Linked DNA regions of Homo sapiens: all the other regions are linked to region 3. Evidence: promoter capture Hi-C in 16 types of primary human blood cells and fetal thymus (Javierre and others, 2016). All regions are on one chromosome and are shown on one strand. Each heading gives the region's core, a stretch centred on a gene start or on the middle of the fragment in contact. The rest is flanking DNA. Distances are from core to core; before and after follow the strand shown.

The links. The method cuts DNA at HindIII sites, captures the fragments that hold promoters and counts their contacts. A CHiCAGO score of 5 or more calls a contact.
Region 1: a contact is called between a fragment that was not itself captured here and the fragment with the promoter of COPS5 in region 3, in 1 of 17 cell types (non-activated CD4 T cells). The highest score is 5.5, in non-activated CD4 T cells.
Region 2: a fragment that was not itself captured here is called in contact with the fragment with the promoter of COPS5 in region 3 in 3 of 17 cell types (naive CD4 T cells, total B cells and total CD8 T cells); the score reaches 6.5 in naive CD4 T cells.
Region 4: a contact is called between a fragment that was not itself captured here and the fragment with the promoter of COPS5 in region 3, in 4 of 17 cell types (total CD8 T cells, naive B cells, activated CD4 T cells and 1 more). The highest score is 8.1, in total CD8 T cells.
Region 5: a fragment that was not itself captured here is called in contact with the fragment with the promoter of COPS5 in region 3 in 4 of 17 cell types (naive CD8 T cells, total B cells, endothelial precursors and 1 more); the score reaches 6.5 in naive CD8 T cells.

What each region holds. Positions count from the first base shown.
Region 1 is chr8:66,414,642-66,417,341 of GRCh38, forward strand. All of the region lies in intron 1 of LOC102724687 (a long non-coding RNA gene), which reads right to left. Among named protein-coding and RNA genes, the nearest start is that of RRS1-DT, 13 kb to the right of the region's middle. The HindIII fragment of the contact is 1,693 bases long and covers 515-2,207 here.
Region 2 is chr8:66,107,623-66,110,322 of GRCh38, forward strand. No RefSeq gene overlaps it. Among named protein-coding and RNA genes, the nearest start is that of TRY-GTA5-1, 4.4 kb to the right of the region's middle. The HindIII fragment of the contact is 6,679 bases long and covers 1-2,700 here.
Region 3 is chr8:67,060,883-67,063,582 of GRCh38, forward strand. It overlaps COPS5 (COP9 signalosome subunit 5), which reads right to left and starts at 1,251. Exons shown (of 8, transcript NM_006837.3): 1 at 972-1,251. The coding sequence starts at 1,114. RefSeq lists enhancers at 918-1,007, 1,188-1,457. The HindIII fragment of the contact is 5,475 bases long and covers 1-2,700 here.
Region 4 is chr8:66,442,189-66,444,888 of GRCh38, forward strand. ADHFE1 (alcohol dehydrogenase iron containing 1) reads left to right here. Exons shown (of 14, transcript NM_144650.3): 3 at 610-656; 4 at 2,179-2,232; 5 at 2,406-2,560. Among named protein-coding and RNA genes, the nearest start is that of ADHFE1, 11 kb to the left of the region's middle. The HindIII fragment of the contact is 3,186 bases long and covers 1-2,700 here.
Region 5 is chr8:66,461,459-66,464,158 of GRCh38, forward strand. The region is part of intron 13 of ADHFE1 (alcohol dehydrogenase iron containing 1); the gene reads left to right. Among named protein-coding and RNA genes, the nearest start is that of ADHFE1, 30 kb to the left of the region's middle. The HindIII fragment of the contact is 1,417 bases long and covers 694-2,110 here.

The DNA.
Region 1 (2,700 bases), core at 111-2,610, 650 kb before region 3:
TACTCTCCTCTCTTCCTCAAATTGGAGAGTGGAAAACTCCAGACTAAGAGGCTGGCTCTTCGATATAAACGACTCAGAACCCCAACTGATAGCCTTTTCAATGATGCTGTGTGGGAAACAAGTTAGCATTATTACCTAACAGAAAGTTTACAGTTTGCATCACTTTTCTGACAATGCCTGGAATTAGCAAATTAATTAGACTCAGAATTAGAATCCATTCTTGTTTTGTTACAAGCATAATTATATCCCACTATCAGGAAAGATTCTTCTAGGCCAACCTTCAACATTCATGATTAAAGTCTAAGTCACTCTCTAATGAAGGATGCCTTGCACAATTAGAGTAAACTGGGGGAAAGTGCATATGATTCTTCCCTAAAGCATCCATTTCTAGAGATGCCAATCCTTCCCACTGATCCTTTAGCACTTTATTCTAAAGTACTCTTCCCCTAGGTTTTCTGCTATTTTCCTATCTTCGCACTAAGAGGTCTGTGACATTATCAGCTATTGCAAAGGAAGCTTTGGGCAAAGTAAATGGAGAAGTCTTTTTATCTTTAAAAGGTTATTTGGCTAAGCAGTTTTAATATTTTTCCTAAATAAGAATGTAGTATATTTTATGGGATATGTAGTTTACTAATGTATTTTATTCAAGTCATCTACAACCACCTTTACCTCTTTTAAGTTCCTTCTGAAATACTTCAACAATAATTCACATTCTATTTTAGGTATTTGTCTTTATATGGACTTCCATGGAGTTAAGCTAATGGTCTTTTGACTATTTTCGAATATCACAATCTGGTTGGGATCATTTGCATATGAGATATTTTTAGAGAATAGTTTGAACCATAAATTTTAAAACTCCAGTTCTATTAAGCTGAGATTTTGATAACTCAAAATGAAGGAAATGTGAATGCCTGAAGACACCTACAAAATAGTAAAATAGCAGATAAACCAATCTGCTATTTAAAGGATGTAACAACCACATTCAATACCAAGTTCAATACTAGTAATAAAAGCTAACATGTAACAAATACTTTCTATGTGCCAGACATGGTGCATACATTATCATATTTAATCCTCACAATAGGATGAAGAAGATATTGCAATTTTTCTTCAGTTTACAAATGAGAAAAATGACCAATATGTTGGTCAGTGTAGTAGTTTGCTAGGGCTGCCCTAACAAAGTAACACAAACTGAGTGGCTTAAACAATAGAAATTAGGCCAGGCATGGTGGCTCACGCCTGTAATCCCACACTTCAGGAGGCTGAGGCGGGCAGATGACTTGAGGTCAGGAGTTCGAGGCCAGCCTGACCAACATGATGAAACCCCATCTCTACTAAAAATACAAAAATTAGCTGCGCATGGTGGCACGCGCCTGTAATCCCAGTTATTCGGGAGGCTGAGGCAGGAGAATCACTTGAACTCAGGAGGCGAAGGTTGCAGTAAGCCAAAATTGCACCATTGCACTCCAGCCTGGGTGACAGAATAAGACTCAGTCTCAAAAAAAGGAAGGAAGGAAGGAAAGAAGGAAGGAAGGAAGGAAGGAAGGAAGGAAGGAAGGAAGGAAGGAAGGAAGGAAGGAAAGGAACTTTCTCATATTCTAGAGTCTAGAAGTCCAAAATCAAACTGTCAGCAGGGTTTGTTCCTTATAAGGACCATGAAGGAAGGATTTGCTCCAGGCCTCATTCCTTGACTTATAGATGGTTGTTTGTCTTCTCTATGTCTTCACATCATCTTCCTTCTTAAGTGTCCACGTTCAAAGTTCCTCTTCTTTTTTTTTTTATTTTGTTTGGGTTTTAAAAATTATTATTATTATTATTATTATTATTATTATTATTTTAGAGATGGGGTCTTGCTCTGTTGCCCAGGCTGGAGTGCAATGGCAAATGTCAAAAATGTTGCAAGAAATAGGACAAACATAATTTTGAATTCATAGTTGAGCTTTCATGAAAGGAAAAGATAGTTTCAGAGACCAAAAGCAAAGAAAGAACTAGAAACTAGAGAGAATGTTACAGCAGCCCTGGGAGGGTGGAAAGGATGGGTGCTGATCTCCAACACCTAGCGATTTGGATTTAACTGCTCATGGGAAAAGACCTCGGGCCACATGAGGTGGGAAATTAGAAACAACATCCCCAAATAGGCCTAGATGAAAGGGTAAACTAAAAAAAGTAAAAATCCAACCAGTAATGGAAGTAAATTATAATAAAGAAGCTTGAATGGCATAACCTGGATCGGGTGTGAAAAAAATATTTTACCTGCGCTTGAAATGATGGATACCCCATTTACCCTGATGTGATTACTACGCATTGCATGCCTGTATCAAAATATCTCACATAACCCATAAAAACTAATTTTGAAAATATTTTAACTCAATTTTGCTATGGGCTCCTTCTTATGTGGGTTTGGGGTTTAGATTTACATAACCCAAATGATCTAGGAGCCCCTAAACCAAGTTATTAATTTTTAAAAAAGGTTTCCAGCTAACAATGAAGCAAATTCAAAACTTCTCTGAGAGGACATGCCCTTAATCCAGATTACACAGGATTCCCACAGATAAAGCCTTGCCAAAAACAAGTGCATAACTCAAAATTACCAAACACATGGAAAATCAATCAACATACACAACAAAAGCAGTATTAGGCCTTCGGAGTGTTTAGATAATAGAGCTAACAGATGGAGACCATAATACATGTTCTAAGTAA
Region 2 (2,700 bases), core at 40-2,539, 950 kb before region 3:
GAATAATTTTTCAAATAAACAATGGCTTTTTTTTTTCACATTTCACGGAGTCTTGACACACCTCCTTGGAGCACTGCTGTTAACAAATTTAAGGGATTTCACCTTTGGATTTAGAGGTGAGAAGAGAATAACCTTTAATAGATGAAACGCTTTTCTACTCCCAGAATGTCCATTTTCTGACCGTACTGGCATCAGAACCTGCCTTTCAACCTCCTTCCTCCCAGAGTAGCAGCTGCCAGCCCAATATCCCTAACCCAAGTGTCCATCTGAGGACAGAGAGACCAAGCAGTGCTACAGAAAGCCCTGGCTGTGATTCAGGAGGCCTAAGATCTCATATGCCACTTCTCCCCTCTGTTACCTTGGATAAGTCATTTCACATATTTGGGCCTCAGTTTCTTCATTCTTAAGCAATTTTTATTACAGAATATCTATAATTAGATGACAATTATGGGACACTCTGACCCATACGTGTTATGTAAAATAACTTACATATGGTTAAACAAAAATGTAATGATGTCAAAAAATGCAGAAACAAAAGCAAATTTCTTCACCATCCCCATATAGTTTGTTAGGGCTATCATAACAAAATATCACAGACTGGGTGGCTTTTAAAAAGATAAATTTGTTTTCTCACACTTCTAGAGGCTAGAAGTCTAAGCTCAAGGTATTGGCAGGTTTGGTTTCTTCTGAGACCTCTCTCCGTGGCTTGTAGATGGCCGTCTTCTCCCTGCGTCTTCCTGTAGCCTTCTCTCTATGCATGCATGTGCCTGCTGTCTCTGTATTCTGTTCTCCTTATAAGGACACCAGTTGTATTGGATCAGGGTGCACCCTAATGACCTCATTTTTGCTTAATTACCTCTTTAAAGGCCTTATCTCCAAATACAGTCACATTCTGAAGTACTAGGGGTTAGGTCTTCAACAAATAAATTGGGGTGGGGAGGGAAGACAGAACACAATTCAGCCCAACAACAAGCATGCCATCAATTTCTCAAAATTGTGCCATATTTCAGTTTGCTTTATATTTGAACCACGTATTTTTTATAAAGTTTTTTTTTGTTTTTTTGTTTTTTTTAGAAATCCCTGAGTATCTTCGTTCTGTCTTTTTGAGAAAAGTGACATGTGCCTTTATCATATCTCTAAGGTCTCCCAGATCCTTAATCACACTACTATTGTAAAAGAATCCGCTTCTTTTTGAAAAATAAACTTCCCAGAGCCCTCTAACTTTTTTTTCCTCCCCTTAATTTGTCCTGATTGCTTTCTTTGCCAGCTGCATCACTGTCAACCTGAGATTTTCTTTTCATTGAGTCCCTGGGTTGGTTTCCTTTTTTCTTAAATCCTGTGTACTCCTCCTTCTTGGATTCTTACTTTGCTTTGCTGAAGTACATCCATGGCATACACAGAGACATGCTGCTAGACTGCCTTTCAAGAAAGAACTCACTGCCCAGCTGCAAGGAGGATGGTTAACTAGTAGCCATCAGGTGTTAACTCCTCTAGCCAAGGTTCTAAGCCTCTGGCCAATGACTGAGCAAGGTGGTGATGCTAGGGCCCCACCATTTCTGCCCAACTTGAGACTCCTCCAAAAGGAAATCTTTGCTCTGGAGCCACCAAGAGGGTTGGCAGAAACTTTGTCGGGTCTGCATCACTGTCTAATGACTACCCCTACCCAATCCTGTGTCCTCCCCTTTTCCATTCACAGATGTTACTCCCCTGTAAAATGTTGTGCTCTAATTCTGCATGAGCTTCAGCTTACTGGAGAACCCATCCAGTACAACATCCTCAAATAATGTTTACTTACTTTTTATTTGTTTCAGAGAGGAATCATAGATTTAAACTTTATGAGACCTTGCAACTATGAACTATTAGTCCTCATATGTGATTGCTACTTTGATTGGCATACAATTCTAGGCTTAAAATTATTTCTTTGCAGAGCTTTGAAGGCCATGCTCAACTGTCTTCTAGCATCCAGTAATGATGATGAGAAGTCTGATCATAATCCAATTCTTATTCCTTTGTAGCTAGCCTAGTTCTTGTTTAGATTTTGCTTTGTTTTCCTCCATCTCTGAAAGTTACAGGGTTTCATCTTTATCCTCAATGCTTTTGAATGTCACTAGGCTGTGTCCAGGCATGGTTATTTTTCATTCATCCTAACTTGCATGATCCTTTCCATCTGATGACCAATGTCTTTCTTTTATTCTTACCCCTGCATTGTCTCTGTTTTCTCTTTCTGGAGCTCATATTAGATACTCTTTATGTCTTCAGGATCTATCTTTTCTTTTTTTTTTCTTTTCTATCTTTTTTTTGGTGTGTGTGTGTGTGTGTGTGTGTGTGTGTGTGTGTGTGTATAACCAGATCTCACTCTGTCCCAGGAGCTGGAGTGCAATGGTGCAATCAATCATAGCCCGCAGCAGCTTTGAACTCCTGGGCTCAAGAGATCCTTCTGCCTCAGCCTCCCAAGTAGCTGGGACTACAGGTAAACACCACCATGTCTAGCTAATTTTCGTATCTTTTGTAGAGATGGGGGTCTTGCTTTGTTGCCCAGGCTGGTCCCAAACTCTTAGCTTCAAGCAATCCTCCCGCCCTGGCCTCCCAAAGTACTGGAATGACAGGGGTGAGCCACTGTACCCAGTGTCATGTTTTTATTTTTTGCTTTCCATGGTCTGATGTCCTGGGATATATTTTCCATTCTATCTTCTATATCTT
Region 3 (2,700 bases), core at 1-2,500:
AATCTCTAGCTAGGTGCTTCCGCAGTTCACCATTGTGGAATCTGAATACTGAGAGACAAGGCTAGCCTTGTAAAAAAAACTGTGAGGCAGTAGAAGTATGTCCTCTTGTTGACCACAGCTTTCCTTTCTATCTAACCATTAGCTTTCGTGCTCTTTTTACTCTCAAACATAACCCGTAATAATTATCTTTTCCTGATAGCAGGAAATCTCTCAGGAGATGCTCTCAGGAAAAGATAAATATTATGGGTAAAGATCCCTCGACTTGTCACCACTCCCAGGGAAAAATGGATATTGTTGAAGGGCAAAAGGTCTTAAGCTCTATTTTTATAATTTCTGGCTTATGGGAACTGGTGGAGTAACATTTTAGAGACCAGGTAGTAGAGCCTCCGTGTGCCTCCGAAATAATTACCAGCAATCAAAAAACTATTATAGGCCCAGGCCTCACGCCTGTAATCCCAGCACTTTGGAAGGCGAAGGCGGGAGGATCGCTTGAAGGCAGAAGCTCGAGATCAGCCTGAGCAACACAGCGAGGACCCATTTCTATTAAAAAAAAAAGAAAAGAAAATAGCTCATAGCTATTTTTGAGACCTTGGGCTGCTGACTCGATTTCTGAAAACAGCTGCAATCCCCAGTTTGGGATTAGTTGAAGACCCAAACAAGGTGCATGTCGACACTGGGCTCAAGGTAGGGTGTGTGGCATATATGACAATACGGATGTTCAGAAGTGACAACTTAAATCACCGCTTGTTGTTCTCCCCTTACATCACCCGGGGGCAAATGGATTAAAGCGACAGAAAGGGGAGTGAAAGCCCCAGCGGAGGGCTTAGGCTCTACTTGCAGATCCAAGACGCATATTCTGTCCCCCTCCCAGTCGGTGAAAGCTCTTCACCCCTTTCACCTCCCTCTCCCTCTGGGTCTCTTAAACTCCGCCACCCTTTCCCTCCCCTGCGTCTCGCCAGGGACCTCCTCACTCCTTAGTCCAGGGCTTCGCCGCCAGGATTTCTTGCTGCTGTTTCTTGTCGTATTTGTAGATTTCATCGATACTCTGAGCTTCCTGCATGTTGTTGGCCAGTTCCCAGGTTTTCTGGGCCATACCGCTCCCGGACGCCGCCATCGCCGAGGAAGCGGAGAAGTTGTCGTCTCTACAACCAAGACGCAACTTTACCTCGCTAGGTTTCCGGGTGTGGGCCTTGACCCTCCGCACCACGGGAACAAACTCTTACCTAGACTCTTGGGGCAGCCATGACACCTAGAACCGGAGGTGAAGTTGGTAGAGACCATTCAGGGAAGACAGGGACCTTTCCGGGACATGACGATATAAACAGCAGTTACAGTAATAGCGAGAGACGAATCTTCTTGTTGCTTAAATGAGAACATCTTGTCTCGGAAAATTATATGTGTGAAATAGAACAAACAAAGTTATAGGGTATGGGAGTGGTATAGTCTTCCGCACCGGAAGAAGGGCATGTAACGTTATTCCAGAAACTGGTATTTGCCTTCTCTGCTTCTAATGCGCAGGCTCGGCCTCCGCCATATTAAAGGTAGCTGGAGCCTTAAGAGCGGGATGTGGAGGGCGGAAAGTGTTTTTGTGTGGGTATAGGTACCTTAAATGAGATAAGTTTGTTGAAAGACTAAAAGGTAAGGCTGTCTGTTGTACAACTGAGCTAAAAGTCGTTCTGGAAGCTGGTTGAGAGGAAGATAAACATGGCATTCCCGTTTACTTCAAGATGACTCACTGTACATGCGTAAAAGCTAACGGGCTCGTGGTGGCTTGGCACTTCACTTGCAGATGGGCTTTTTCTATCGATGCGAGGAGGCAGTGGGTACTCCTTGATTGCTTTTTTGCGCTTTGGTAAAAGTTAACATCTACGTATATATAATGTGCCATTACTGATCTGAAAATGTCCAGTACTCAGTTCTCGTAACAGGTTACAGTTAAATCTTTGGCACTCCTGTGAACCGCATTTGTTCCCAAAGCGTAATTAATCTGGGTAACTGGTTTGTTTTCTTCCTACAGTTAATACAATGTTTAATTTTTTTATTAGTTCACGTGTTTTAGGTTTTCTTTTTTCTCCATCTCATTCTTCCATCCGTGCAAGATTTTAAGTTTCAAGACACAGGGAGCAGGTCTGCGTTCCTTGTTTTATCTCCTAGCACCTAGCATAGGTGTTCAAGATTTTTTTTTCTTTTATTTCCTGAAAAGATAGCATGACAGGCCAGGCGCGGTGGCTCACGCCTGTAATCCCAGCACTTTGGGCAGCCGAGGCGGGCTGATCACTTGAGGTCGGGAGTTCAAGACCAGCCTGGCCAACATGGTGAAACCCCGTCTCTACTAAAAAAATACAAAAAAAAATTAGCCGGGCGTGATGATGTGCGCCTGTAGTCCCGGCTACTCATGAGGCTGAGGCAGGAGAATCGTTTGAACCCAGGAGGCGGAAGTTGCAGTGATCCGAGATTGCGCCACTCCAGCCTGTTAGACAGAGCCAGTCTCAAAAAAAAAAAAAAAAAAAAAAAGAAAGAAAGAAAGAAAAAAGAAGAAAAAAGAAAAGATAGCACCACAGCTGTTAACAACCTGGCCCCTATGCACCTCTTCCAGCTTCATCTCTTTTTAGTCCCCCCTTGAAACTTTTCATTCTAGCAATGCAGATATCTTTACTTTGGCTTTGCATATGTGGTCAGCATTGCTTGAAACGCTCTTTC
Region 4 (2,700 bases), core at 185-2,684, 620 kb before region 3:
AGGGGATTTTTTTCCTAGAGGATTGTTACACATTAGATTTTCAAACACATATTTTAAATATAATGCAAGAAATGTTTTATTATTTTCACAAATTAGGCTCAAGTTAGCATTACATTCTATCTTTTTTTTTTTTTTTTTTTGAGACGGGGTCTCACTCTGTTGTCCAGGCTGGAGTGCAGTGGCGCGATCTCGGCTCACTGCAAGCTCCACCTCCCAGGTTCACACCATTCTCCTGCCTCAGCCTCCCGAGTAGCTCGGACTACAGGCGCTCGCCACCACACCTGGCTAATTTTTTTGTATTTTTAGTAGAGACAGGGTTCTACCATGTTAGCCAGGATGATCTCGATCTCCTGACCTCGTGATCCACCCGCCTCAGCCTCCCAAAGTGCTGGGATTACAGGTGTGAGCCACTGTGCTTGGCCGCATTACATTCTATCTTAAAATACAGGTATTGATTTTAATTTGATGTGCAACAGTGAAACCTGGAAAAAATATATTTTTGGTAAGACTTCAAAGGAAATACTTATGTTCACTGCTGGATTTTACTATCAAATAACATTTATGCTTTTTTTTAAAGACCCACTTTGATGCTAACTTTTACATTTCTAGCCCCTGGACTTTCACCTTCTGGGAAAACAACAGATTATGCCTTTGAGGTATATTCACTCAATCCATTATTTCTTTTATGAATGACTAGAAAAAAATAAAACTAGAATATTTTGCTAATGAATTATTATTTTATTTTAAATCTGTTATTAATTCACATTCCATAATCTCTATTTGATCAGACCATATTTAGCAAAGTACCTGGTTGGTATAATGGAATATAAACCTTCTGAGATCATGGCTAATGTCTAGAGTGCTGTCTTTGTAGAGTCACTAAAATAGGATAAATTCCCAATTCTACAAATTCTCCAGTACATATATGTTATGTGTTAAATCTTTAGTTTTTTAATTATAACAATCCCAAAAGAGGTCAAAGTAAAGTAACAATTCTGGTGTATTTTTATCACACTGTAATTACATAATTACTTATAATTATTTGTTTAAGTCCCTGTCTCCTCCTAGTCCAGGAATTTTTTTTTTTTTTTTTTTTTTTTTTTTTTTTGGAGACAGCCTCACTCTGTCACCCAGACTGGAGTGCAGTGGTGTGATCTCAGCTCACTACAACCTCCGCCTCCTGAGTTCAAGCGATTCTCCTGCCTCAGCCTTCTGAGTAGCTGGGATTACAGGTGCACACCACCACACCCAGCTAATTTTTGTATTTTTAGTAGAGACAGGGTTTTGCCATGTTGGCCAGGCTGGTCTCGAACTCCTGACCTCAGGTGATCTGACCACCTCGGCCTCCCAAAGTGCCAGGATTACAGGCATAAGCCACCGCGCCTGCCTTCAGGAATGACTAATTAAAATGTCACCGGGGGCCTGACAGTTAACCAAGAGATGACCAGGCTGGGTGATGCCATGGTGAGCTCACTGAAGGCACAGGCCCCATCTAAGGTGTGACTCCACTCAACCTTATAAGATCACTGCCATATGGGAATGCATTCCCAGTTTGCTGGATTATTCAAGAGAAAGTGAAATTCAGATGGTCTTATTAAATTTTTTATCCTGATTTTTAAGCATTATTAGTCAATTCAAAAAAAAAAAGAAATTTAAACATAACACAGATCAAATAAAATATATTTCAGGCGAAACATGACCCATCATCCATCAGTGTAAAAGCCTTTCTCTCACCCGTAAACTTTATGAGGCCCTGTGTCTCTTATTCATAGTTGAGTTACCAGAGCCTACACAGTGCCTCGAACATAGAAGACAGTAGCATTGACTGGGTGGCAGGTATGCAAGGGTGGGTGGATGAATGGAAAGTAAGACATTTGAGAGTTATTTTACAGGTGGAGTTGGAAGAAGGTAGGCATTTGAAGCTAAGGGAACAGTTGAGAGTTTATGATGTGTTTGGGAAAAGACAAGTCATTCAAATGACAGGAGCTGAAGTTTGCTTAAGGAAGTGTGGTGCGTCCACACTTCTTTAAGTGAGACCAGGTGGGAGATGACCTGGAAGACCATGCTAAGGAGTGTATACTTTATGCTCTAGGCAACAAGAAACCATTTCAGGTTTTTAGAAATGGACTGGCCAACTCTCAAATACTCCCTACACCTAAACCTTTTTATTTTTTTCAGATGGCTGTTTCAAATATTAGATATGGAGCAGCAGTTACAAAGGAAGTAGGAATGGCAAGTATTCGAGATGTCTACGGTCTCCTACTGTAAATGTTACATATCTCACAAGACCATGCTAAATGACAACAATCACATCCTCTATTTTTAAAAATGTACAACGTGAGTTTGCCAGAAGAGTCTATTGCAGTTCTAGTGGAGTTGAACCTAACTTATAGGTTTTCTTGTAGGACCTAAAAAACATGGGTGCTAAAAATGTGTGCTTGATGACAGACAAGAACCTCTCCAAGCTCCCTCCTGTGCAAGTAGCTATGGATTCCCTAGTGAAGAATGGCATCCCCTTTACGGTTTATGATAATGTGAGAGTGGAACCAACGGATTCAAGGTATTCTTGTATTGTTGTTATTGTTTCTTTACTTTAAGCAGAAGCTAACTGTTGATTAAAACTTGCCCCCAACCAGGCGTGGTGGCTCACGCCTGTAATCCCAGCACTTTGGGAGGCTGAGGCAGGCAGATTGCTTGAGG
Region 5 (2,700 bases), core at 152-2,651, 600 kb before region 3:
TTCTTCCTCCCCACTTCGCTAGTGCTTAGAATGTTGACAGCCTCACCACTCACTTAAGATAATATTTATATAGATTGTGTTCATAGACTCATGTGTCCACAGGAGCCAGGTAGAGAATAGCAGTGAACAATGTCATGTAAGGCCTTAGGGAGTGGTGGGGACTTTGGTAAGCCAGAAAGCACGTGACCCATCTAACTGGGTGAGCAGCTCAGCTGCAGTTTATCATCACCAAGCAGAAGATCAGGTCCCAGTGTTGGTAGAACTACCAACTCTCAAGAAAAATCAGCAATCCGGATGTTTGTGTTGAATTCCCTGGTTTCCAATGCACAAATGAAATGTAGTCCGTGAACCACCAGTTTCCCTGATTTGGATTCAGGCTCAGTGAATTCAATTGCATCTACAAATAGAAATGAACAAGAAACAAAGGAGTCTCAAAGTATAGGAGAGACCCTGGGCTAACCCACAAACCCTTAATTCTAACCCATACGTCCAAGGGACCAAATCACTAAAAAAATCACACTCTCTAACGCCCTCACAGTTATTTTATCCAAGCCTACCAGCCTGTAAGTCCTGTGAGGGCAGGAATCTGTCTGCTTGGCTCATCCATTTTCCATTGCACCTAGCACAGGCTAGTAAACATGTTAAACGAACACATACCTCCATTCCTCTCCTCCTAAGTCCTCTGTCTAGGTAAGCTTTAATGGCTGACTGAGGATAACTTTTTGAAAAGTTTCCTTAGACTGACTAGGACTCAACCAAAGACAGGGGAGCCATGAAAGCTCAGGGACACCGTAGACTGAGTGGTCATAGTGATTTTTTCCGGAGGGAGGGACAGGGCTGGAGTGCAGTGGCATAATCACAGCTCACCACAGCCTTGACCTCCCAGGCTCAAGTGATCCTCTGTCCTCAGCCTCCCGAGTAGCCAGCACTATAGGTGTGTGCCACCATACCAGGCTAATTTTTTTAACTTTTTTGTACACAATAGGTCTCACTGTGTTACCCAGGCTGGTCTTGAATTCCTGAGCTCAAGCAATCCTCCTGCCTTGGCTTCCCAAAGTCCTAGGGTTATAGATATGAGCCACAGTGCCTGGCATTCACTGCAATTTTAATGTAGCTTCTGGCTTTATGGCATGGTCCCAGTGACACTGTCCACCCTGCAAGGGGCCTTCCAAAAGGTTCTGTTTGTTTAGCCCAGGAAAGTGTTCAGGAAAATGTGTGGGTCCATCTCTAAGAATGGTATCCATGATTTTCAGATGAAACTGTCTGATACCCTTGGCGATTTGATTGCTGACCATCAGTACACACTGACAGGTGTTTACTCTTCTAATTCTACTGTGGTCAGACTGTCACTTTCTTTTGTTTGTTTTGTTTTTTGTTTTTGAGACAGAGTTTCACTCTCATTGCCCAGGCTGGAGGGCAGTGGTGCAATCTTGGCTCACTGCAACCTCTGCCTGCCGGGTTCAAGTGATTCTCCTGCCTCAGCCTCCCGAGTAGCTGGTATTACAGGCACACACCACCATGCCCAGCTAATTTTTGTATTTTTACTAGAGACGAGGTTTCACCATGTTGGCCAGGCTGGTCTCAAACTCCTGACCTCAGGTGATCCGCCCACCTCAGCCTCCCAAAGTGCTGGGATTACAGGCGTGAGCCACCACAACTGGCCCAGACTGTCACTTTCAAAAGCTATTCCACGTAGCAGCAGATCCAGCTTAACATTTGAGACCACTAAAATAGCACTAAATTAACACTAAAATAGCAACTTAATTAGGTATCATTCTGAATGCCTCAGTGCACATGCAATACTGGGAAATCACAGATAGCAAAATCTTAATTGGACAAAACCAATTTCTTAGTTTTACAAAAATGGGAGGTAAATGGAATCTTTTGGATATAAGTTCTGTCTTAAAGTAGGAAGCCAGATTTTCCTCAGGCTGTATTCATAAAACACCCCAAGGCATCTGCTGCCTTTTTTCCTCTGATCATGTTTTCATGATTCAGAGAAATATAGTTAATTTTAATTAAACTAGCCCTAGGTTCATTTGGAGTCTACGTGATTGAGATATGTGTATATTCACAGATCGATAGGACTTTGGTAGGAATCTTAGAAATAAGCTTGTCCATTTTGCAGATGAATAACTACTATGGAATTTTGTTTGTTTGTTTGATGGCAGTGACTGTTTTACAGGAATGCTGTGGCCACTTCAGAGTTTTACACATGCAATAGACTAATCTTCGCTTATTAGTATCTCCAGGATTTAAGGTAGTGAGAAGAATATACTGGCTCCTCCAAAGAACGTCACCAGAAAGGTTATTCAATGTAGTTGACATTTGATGAAGGTTCTTTTCTGTTCAGCAGTGAAGGATTGGTTTTCTCTGGAAGAAACAACCAGGCCAGTATTCTTGACCAAACACAGCCCATACTGGTGGCAGCTAATAGCAGCCCTGTGTACAGAGGCTTTCAACTGCCATAGCCAGGCTGCAAGGGGAGCAGGCAAGAATATATTAATCTTCCAAGCTGGATTTCTAAAACCCCTGGAAAGAAACATTTACATTTCAAATCAAAACATTTCATTACTGAGGAGCGCTGTCTACCCAAATGAGCACTTCCACTCCCTGGTAGACAGGCCAGCTGAAATGTTGTTATTTCATGAACGTGCTAAAAGTAGATGTCTGAATTTATTTCGTTCCCATGTTAATGAG